3 separate regions of the Homo sapiens genome follow, and all the other regions are linked to region 1. Evidence: promoter capture Hi-C in 16 types of primary human blood cells and fetal thymus (Javierre and others, 2016). All regions are on one chromosome and are shown on one strand. The core of a region is centred on a gene start or on the middle of the fragment in contact, and the rest is flanking DNA. Distances in the headings are between cores, read along the strand shown.

Region 1 (2,854 bases), core at 164-2,663:
GTTTAATTTCATTGCCAAAGTCTTTCAAACCAGCGAGTTCCAAGGCTCTTTCCAGGTCTTCAGCAGCTTGAAAATCCACATAGTCAGATTTCCTTGTCATACCCATTCTGACATCCACAACAGCAAGATCATTTTTAGCAAAAATATCATGGATACTAGTTTTTGTTTTTCTTTCTTTTTCGAGACAGGGTCTTGCTCTGTTACCCAGGCTGGAGTGCAATGGTGCTCACTGCAGCTTCCACCTCCCGGGTTCAAGTGATTCTCCTGCCTCAGCCTCCCCAGTAGCTGGGACTACAGGCACGCACCACTACGCCCGGCTAATTTTTGTATTTTTAGTAGAGACAGGGTTTCATTATGTTGGCCAGGCTGGTCTCAAACTCCTGACCTTGTGATCTGTCCACCTCAGCCTCCCAAAGTGCTGGGATTACAGGCGTGAGCCACCAGGCCTGGCCCATGGATACTAGTTTTTAACTCAGGAGCAGACTTGTTAAAGTTCAGGTTTCCAACAAAGATTGAAAGACGTTCCAGCCTGGCCAACATGGTGAAACCCCGTCTCTACTAAAAATACAAAAATTAGCCGGGTGGTAGTGGTACACGCCTGTAATCCCAGCTACTCAGGAGGCTGAAGCAGGAGAATCACTTGAGCCTGGCAGGTGAAGGTTGCAGTGAGCCAAGATTGCGCCACTGCAGTCCAACCTGGGCGAGAGAGTGAGACCCTGTCTTAAAAAAAAAAAAAAGGCACAGTTGGTTCTGTGCTTCTCACTCTCCACTTTGTGTTTCTTGGCTTCAGAAGCTGCTGTTTGGTCATTTCCTTCATTTTCCAGGTGCTTCTTTGACAGACCCTTCCTCCTCTTTGTCGTCTTCATCACTTCATCCTCTTCATCATCGTCACCCTCGTCCTTGTCCTCATCATCCTCTTCATCTTCATTCCCAGCCATCCTCTTGGCTTTCCCAGGAACAGCATTTGTAGAAGCTTTCTTTCCTTTGGCTGGTGTTGTTTCCATAGGTGCTGCTTCAGAGCCATCTTCCTCAGCATCGTCCTCATCGTCCTCGTCCTCATCCCCTGAGGCAGGGGCACCCGCTGCTGCCTTCATCACTGCTGGTTCAGAGTCATCCTCCTCCTCATCGCTGTCTTCCTTCTTGGCGTTCTTGCCGTTCTTTGCCCCCTTGGCTGGGGTGTCCCTTCTTGCCAGGAGCTGCTGCCAGTGCTTTGCCTGCTATGGCTCCCTTCTTGGCAGGTGTGGCGACTGCTTTGCCTGGAGTGACAGTTGCTTTCTTGGTGGGTGTGGCACCTGCAGCCTTTTTTGTTCGGGAAACTGTCACCTTCTTGGCTGGGGTTGCAGCAGCCTTCTTGCCTTTCTCCTGAGGTGTGACAGTCTCTTCTCCACAGCTGTCATCTTCTTCATCTTCTGACATTTCCTCATCTTCACTTCCTCCTTCTGCCTCCTTTGGGGGAGCAGCCATTTTCTTGGGGTCACCTTGGTTTTTACCTGCCTCGACACCAAGTAGTCTGAAGCTGCTGAGGATGGGAAATCTTTGCAGGGTGCAGAGTGGGAGAGGAGCAAGGTGTGGCTGACACCAGCTGCAGCACAGGCTGTCAGGGTGGGGAGGTGGCTGGGCCCTTGTAATGGGCCCAGGAGATGCTGCTGGCACTGTGAGAGGGCCTGGTTAGGAGTTAAACCTTCATGCATCTGAGATAAATCATAAGCTCTTCTTGGTATGAAAATGTAAGAAAATTATTCCATATTTTGCAGGAAAGCTGCAGGAATGTGAAGGAGTTAAATTGAATCAGGGTAAGAAAGGCTCAGGGCCTCAAATAGAGCTCTGTGTTTTCTGCATTGTATCTTCTAAAACAAGCTTAGAACAGAGGTCGTGTTCACATCCCGTTTAGTAAAAGAGCAGGTTTACCATGAGGTTAAGTACAGGTAAGTACAGGGCTTCTTAGCGTTTCTTGGATGAATCCTAAAGGTTTTCCAGGAGAATCACTTAGCTTATTGCAGCCAACATTTAAGATTCTGAAGTTAAGCAGAAAAAAAGAAAACCCAAGATCAAGGGACCAGCAGGAGAAAAAAAAGATTCTGAAATTGATTTTATTTATTTAGGGTCTTGCTCTTTCGCCTGAACTGGAGTGCAGTGGCGCAATCTTGACTCACTGCAGCCTTCACCTCCCTGGCTCAAGCAATCTTCCCACCTCAGCCTCCTGAGTAGCTGGGACTACAGGTGCACGCCACCATGCCTGGCTGAGTTTTGTAATTTTTGTAGAGACAGTGTTTCACCATGTTGCCCAGGCTGGTCTCAAACTCCTGGGCCCAAGCGATCCATCTGCCTTGGCCTCCCAAAGTGCTGGCATTACAGGAGAGAGCCACTGCGACCAGCCTAACTTTTTAACTTAAAAGTAGAGGTTAAGTTGGGCATGGTGCCTCACTCCTGTAATCCCAGCACTTTGGGAGGCCGAGGTTGGTGGATCACTTGAGGTCAGGAGTTTGAGACCAGCCTGGCCAACATGGCAAAACCCTGTCTCTACTAAAAATAACAAAAATTAGCTGGGTGTGATGGGCACATGCCTGTAATCCCAGCTACTCAGGAGGCGGAGGCAGGAGAATTGCTTGAGCCTGGGAGGTGGAGGTTGCAGTGGGTCGAGATCGCGCCACTGCACTCCAGCCTGGGTGACAGAGTGAGACTCTGTCTCAAAAAAAAGGGGGGGGGGGTAATTTTTTAAAATAATTAAATCAGATTATTTTACTTGCCTTATTTCTGATGTTACAGGATTTCTTGTAATTAGCTTTTTTAAAAAAGAGTTTGTGGCCATATAGTAGGTGTGTATATGGGTAATTAGCTTTTAAAAGGAGTAAAT
Region 2 (2,854 bases), core at 253-2,752, 160 kb after region 1:
ACGCGGGGTCCCGGGTTTAGGCACCCCACCCCTATCTGTTCCAACAGACTCTCCCTCTCAGCCCATGGCACAGATGGCATCTGAGCTAGCAGCACGCTGCTGCTTCAGGCAGGGGTTGATAGGAGGTCCAGGTGGAGGAGTGGGTTCTCAGGACTGCCTTGGCCCCCCTGCACCGCTGCCCTCCTTCTCCCTGCCTCTCAGGTGCCTCCCGGCTCCCTGGGACTCACTCCCTCACCTTGGCCTCTGCCTGGGATGCTACCCGGCCACCCCCACCAGCCCTGACACCAGTGCTGCCCACTAGCCCCTGCTGCTACATAGGCATGCGCCTCCCCCAGTCTGGGCTCCTTGACCCCCGGGCACTGGGGAAGGGGAACAAGGAAGCAGTCCACACCAGCCCACTCCCAGGGCTCGTGCGCCCCCAGCAAGGGATGGGCCACAGAATCCAGGAAGAAGACGGGCTCCGGCCCCCAGTGGTCGCCAGCAGCCCCGTAGAAGCTCACCACCCCACCCCATCCGACTCACTCCTGCTCTCATGTACATTTCCCAGCTCCCCACCCGGGCTCACCTTCAGACCAGCGGCAGCGCTCACCCACCACGCCTGCCAGGGAAGCTCAGTCCCAACAGAATCCAGAGAGGGCCCACCACATGTGCCTGCCTGTGACGGCCTGTGACAGGGCCCCAGCCAGGGCCAACGAGCTGGAGGGGCCCAAGGAGCTGGGTGCAGCGCTGGGGTAACAGGACAGCCCCACGGGGTGCTCCCGAGTCTGGACCAGACTCGGGGTGGGGAGGCCCAGACTCGGCGGGGGGCAGACTTGGGGTGGGGGGATTGCTGGGGGAAGTTGGGGCCTCTGGCAAGGGATAGGGCCTGTGCTCAAGCCCAAAGGTGCCCCAGGCTGAAATGGGCACCCAGGGGTCACTATCAGAGCCCCAACAGCTGGCCATGGGGGAAGCCATGCCCAGCAAACCTGGCCCTCGGGACCCTGCGGGCCAGATCAAGTTTCTCTACCTTGGCCTGAGCTTCTCATCAACACTTCACTTGCTGGGCGTTTCAGGACCAAACTCTCAGGGTGGAAGTGGGGCTTGTGTCCCCTTCTGGGGTGGCAGGGCTCGGAAAGGGAATGATGGTAGGGGCTGTGAGATGTGGGTCCTGGCCCCCAGTGGGAAGTCACCAGAGGCCTCGGAGGCGGGCATGGCTGAGGAACACAGCCCCTGCCCTATCAGGGCCGCTGGGTTGGTGGGCCCTGCCAGCAGGAGGAGGGTGGGCAAGGTCCCTGCCAGCTCTGTCTCTGGGACCAGTGGGCAGGGGCCTCTGCCTCACCCCCACGCTGCCTCAGCTGGGGCAGCAGGCCCAGGCCTCTTGCATAAGCGCCCTGTGGGGGACGAGGCTGCAGCTGTGCCTGGCCACCCCATCCCCCAGCATCACGAGTGTTCAGTGGGCTGTCCCCGGGCCCTGGGTGGAGGCCAAGCCTGGCCCATAAATAGGGGTCTCCTCAGTGCCCTCCGCTCCTCCTGCACACCTCCCTCGCTCTCCCACACCACTGGCACCAGGCCCCGGACACCCGCTCTGCTGCAGGAGAATGGCTACTCATCACACACTGTGGATGGGACTGGCCCTGCTGGGGGTGCTGGGCGACCTGCAGGCAGCACCGGAGGCCCAGGTCTCCGTGCAGCCCAACTTCCAGCAGGACAAGGTGAGGGGCTTTCCTGCGTCATCCCCAAGGGCTACAGGACCCTGTCAGGGGAAGGGCACTTTCCGGCTGGGTCTTCCCCCTGGGAGGAGTGAGCGAAGTCCCGCAGTGCCGGGCAGTGCCGGCCAGGGACTGAGCGGGCGCGCAGGAAGGAGGCTGGGTAGCCGCCCGAGGAGGCTGCCCGCGAGAAGCCCTCCCTGGGCACCGCGTCCCGTCTCCCCTGATGGGCCACGCAGACACCGGGCCACACACGCGCCCACGCCAGCCAGACACGTCCACCCCTGTGGGCACGCGACCCCCAGAGGACACACGAGCGCACGTTCCACACCTGGGTGCCAGGACACGGGCGGGTGGGGCACAGGGATGGCGACAAACACTCCGTGCGCGGTGGGGGTTGGGAGGGACGCGCACCGCACAGACAGCCGGCGACGCGCGCTCTCGCCCGGGAGCTGCTCGGGGAAGCGCCGGAGCGCGGGTCCCCGCGCCGCGCGCCCCTCCCTGGCGTCGAGGAGAACCCCAGCGGTCCGCAGAGCTGAGCCGAAGACCCGCCCCGATCCCCGCCAGGAATGCGACGTCCTCTGCCGCCCGCTGTATGGGCCAGGCGCTCAGCCAGGGCACAGAATCGGGACCGGGGGCGGAGGGGCCGAAGCTGGCTGGTGGGCGGCGTGCGAGGGTGAGGGACTGTCCTCGGGAGGGGCGTGGCCAGACGGGGGTGCTGGGTGTCAGGGGCGTGGCCAGCTTCTGGGGCTGAGGCGTGAGGGGCGGGGCCATCTCCGGGGGAGGGGGAAGTGGGGCGTGGTCATCTCCTGGGGCGGGGCGTGAGGGGCGGGGCCACCTCCCGGGGCGGGGCGGGGGCCTGATGGGCGTGGTCAGCTCCTGGGGCGGGGACGTGAGGGGCGGGGTCAGCTCCTAGGGGGGCATGGGGCGTGAGGGGCGCGGTCAGTTCCCTGGTTGTGGACATGAAGGGCGGGGCCAGCTCTTGGGGCGGGGTCGTGAGGGGCGTGGTCAGCTCCTGGGGCGGGGATGTGAGGGGCGGGGTCATCTCCTGGGGCGGGGATGTGAGGGGCGTGGTCAGCTCCTGGGGCGGAGATGTGAGGGGCGGGGTCATCTCCTGGGGCGGGGATTGAGGGGCGGGGGTCAGTTCCTGGGGCGGGGCGTGAGGGGCG
Region 3 (2,854 bases), core at 199-2,698, 140 kb after region 1:
CCAGCCCTGGAGCCCTGAAGTCCTGGGGGCTGGGCTCTTCGAGTGGCCAGGCTGGGGCTGCCACCCAGGGCAGGCTGCCGAGGCCCAGGGCACCTCCTGGGATGAGCCTAAGTCCCTTGTAAGCAGGGCTGGATGAGGGGAGGAGGTGGCCAGGACAGGGAATCTGGGGTGGGAGGGGGCAGCCAGGACAGGGACCTGGGGGGCCTGGACAGAGGCTCACAGGCCAGGCACACGGTGAGTGGGAGGCACCTGGCTCACCCTTGGTGACCCCTAACATGGAGTCCAGCACCCAGAGGCTTCAGCTACCTGTGAGGATGGGAGGAGAGGTCAGGAAGGGGACTCCACTCCCTAGCCCCATCGTCCAAGGGGTGCCAGGGCAGCTAGAAGCCCCAAGCCTGCCATTGCCCTCCCTGCCAGCCCTCTGTTTACATTTTATTTTTATATTTTTAGAGATGAGATCTCAGTCTTGCCCAGGCTGGAGTCCAGTGGCACAATCATAGCTTACTGCAGGCTCAAACTCCTGGGCTAAAGCAATCCTCCCACCTCAGCCTCTCAAGTAGCTGGGACCACAGGTGTGCACCACCACCCCCAGCTAACTTTTAAATTTTTTTGTAGAGATGGAGTCTCGCTATGTTGTCCAGGGTGATGTCAAACTCCTGGGCTTGAGAGATCCTCCCACCTTGGCCCCCCAAAGTGCTGGGATTATAGGCATGAGCCTCTGTGCCTGGCCTACTAATCCTTTCTTTTAGGCAGGACCAGCATGGGGTGCCCACTCCCATTAGTGGGGCTTCCCAGCCCTGCCCCTCCCTCTGGGCAGAGACTGCGTTTAAAATGCCCCAGCTGTCCTCACCAGGTTGCCTGGGTGCTCTGCAGGCCCCAGCCTCCCTCCTCGCCTGCTCGGGCCACCTCCACCCCGGCCTCATGGCCACAGGGCCCCTCCCTGGTCCTGTTCTTGCTCCAGGGCCACGGCCCACGCTGCGGTTCAGGCATGTGTGGAGCCAGGCAGGGTGGGGGTAGGGGGGCGGCTGGCAGGCCCAGGCCCTGCAGGGGGAATGCCCGGGTTTGGCCACAGCTGGGCCCTGTCCCTTATGGCTGCGGCAGGTCACGCTGTCTGCCTGGGACGCAACATTCTGTGACAGGGAGGAAGGCTGGGGCAGGCTGCGTGGGGCCTCTGAACCCCCAGCATGGGGCACTTGGAAGGGGGCTGAAGGGGGCAGGGCCTCAGAAATGAGAAGAAGAGGTGGAAGGTGGACCTGGGGGCCCCTCCTACCCCACCTGGCTGGAACCCAAGAGACCGCAGGTGGGTGGGTGGGACCTGAGGAGAGCCCACACCAAGCCTGCCCTGGGCACCACCTCTCCTGCCAGTCCTGAGGAGGGAGGCAGAGGGGCACACCCCCTTGGGAGGGGCACCTGCTGGGTATGTGCATGAAGAGGTGGGTCTCTGGGTCACCTGCCCATGGCCACTTCCTTCTCTCTGTCCCTGTGGGCCCAGCAGCTGCCAGGATGAGGCTGCTGTGTGGCCTGTGGCTGTGGCTCTCCTTGCTGAAAGTCCTGCAGGCCCAGACCCCAACCCCCCTGCCACTCCCGCCCCCGATGCAGAGCTTCCAAGGAAACCAGGTACAGGGGTTTTGACGGAAGGAGAAGCAGCCGGCTGGGTCTGAGTGCAGGGAGAGGCTGGTGGCTGAGCAGGCCTGGGGATGCTGCCCAGAGAGCCAGGACCAGCCGTGCTTCCAGGAGCCCCCAGGCGGGCCCCTGACCTCCAGCAGAGGAGGGCCCAGCGCAGACCTTCCTGGCACCCATTCCCTGCCGTCAGCCCAGCCCATCGCTCCCTCTGTGCGTGAGGGGAAACAGGCTCGGGAAGGCCGCACAGCCACTGGCCAGGGTCACCATGTCCCTGCCAGACCCAGAGTAGGCTCTGGTTCTTGCCAGTGTCCCTGGCGCCGGCCCAGCCAGGAGCACTGCTCTGTGAGGGGTCCAGAAGCTGCCAGGGAGGGCGGGAGGGGGCTCCTGACCCTGCCCACTGCCACCCCTGCCCACCGCCGCCCCTGCCCACCACCGCCTCTGTAGTTCCAGGGGGAATGGTTCGTCCTGGGCCTGGCGGGCAACAGCTTCAGGCCGGAGCACAGGGCGCTGCTGAACGCTTTCACCGCAACTTTTGAGCTAAGTGATGATGGCCGCTTTGAGGTGTGGAATGCGATGACTCGGTGAGTGGCTGTCCCTGCCGTTCCAAGCGGGTGAGGAGGATCCCGGGCCTGGGTCCCAGCCGCCAGTGGCTCAGGTGCGCCATGGGCCCTGTCCCAGCACAGGCAGCTTCATGACTCTGCCTGCCAATGACCAAACCCAGCTGGGGAGTATACAAAAAAGTGTGGGCAGCTGGGCGCGCTGGCTCACACCTGTAATCCTAGCACTTCGGGGGCCGGGTGCGCTGGCTCACACCTGTAATCCCAGCACTTCCGGGGCTGGGCGCGCTGGCTCACACCTGTAATCCCAGGACTTCAGGGGCCGGGCGCGCTGGCTCACACCTGTAATCCTAGCACTTTGGGGGCCGGGCGCGGTCGCGCACACCTGTAATCCTAGCACTTTGGGGGCCGGGCGCGGTGGCGCACACCTGTAATCCCAGCACTTTAGGGGCCGGGCGCAGTGGCGCACACCTGTAATCCCAGTACTTCAGGAGGCAGAGGCAGAAGGATCACTTGAACTCAGGAGTTTGAGACCAGCCTGAGCAACATAGTTAGACACCATCTCCACTCATGACGCTTGGCCACTCCCGCCGTGGGTCCCTCTGAATAAGTGGCTGAAATCTCCTGAGGGGCCCACCTCAGCATGGACCTGCCAGCTTCCGGAGCCTTCCGCC

The links. Contacts are between HindIII fragments. The CHiCAGO score rates a contact against its expected background, and 5 or more counts as called.
Region 2: the fragment with the promoter of PTGDS here is called in contact with a fragment that was not itself captured in region 1 in 7 of 17 cell types (activated CD4 T cells, non-activated CD4 T cells, M1 macrophages and 4 more); the score reaches 10.0 in activated CD4 T cells.
Region 3: the fragment with the promoter of LCN12 here is called in contact with a fragment that was not itself captured in region 1 in 6 of 17 cell types (endothelial precursors, activated CD4 T cells, naive CD4 T cells and 3 more); the score reaches 8.3 in endothelial precursors.

What each region holds. Positions count from the first base shown.
Region 1 is chr9:136,814,028-136,816,881 of GRCh38, forward strand. The region is part of intron 1 of RABL6 (RAB, member RAS oncogene family like 6); the gene reads left to right. It also overlaps the pseudogene NCLP1. Among named protein-coding and RNA genes, the nearest start is that of CCDC183-AS1, 6.6 kb to the left of the region's middle. The HindIII fragment of the contact is 884 bases long and covers 972-1,855 here.
Region 2 is chr9:136,976,002-136,978,855 of GRCh38, forward strand. It overlaps PTGDS (prostaglandin D2 synthase), which reads left to right and starts at 1,503. Exons shown (of 7, transcript NM_000954.6): 1 at 1,503-1,691. The coding sequence starts at 1,578. It also overlaps LOC124902312. RefSeq lists an enhancer at 2,563-2,854. The HindIII fragment of the contact is 17,671 bases long and covers 1-2,854 here.
Region 3 is chr9:136,950,825-136,953,678 of GRCh38, forward strand. LCN12 (lipocalin 12) reads left to right here and starts at 1,449. Exons shown (of 6, transcript NM_178536.4): 1 at 1,449-1,617; 2 at 2,068-2,204. The coding sequence starts at 1,504. RefSeq lists a silencer at 2,089-2,270. The HindIII fragment of the contact is 24,012 bases long and covers 1-2,854 here.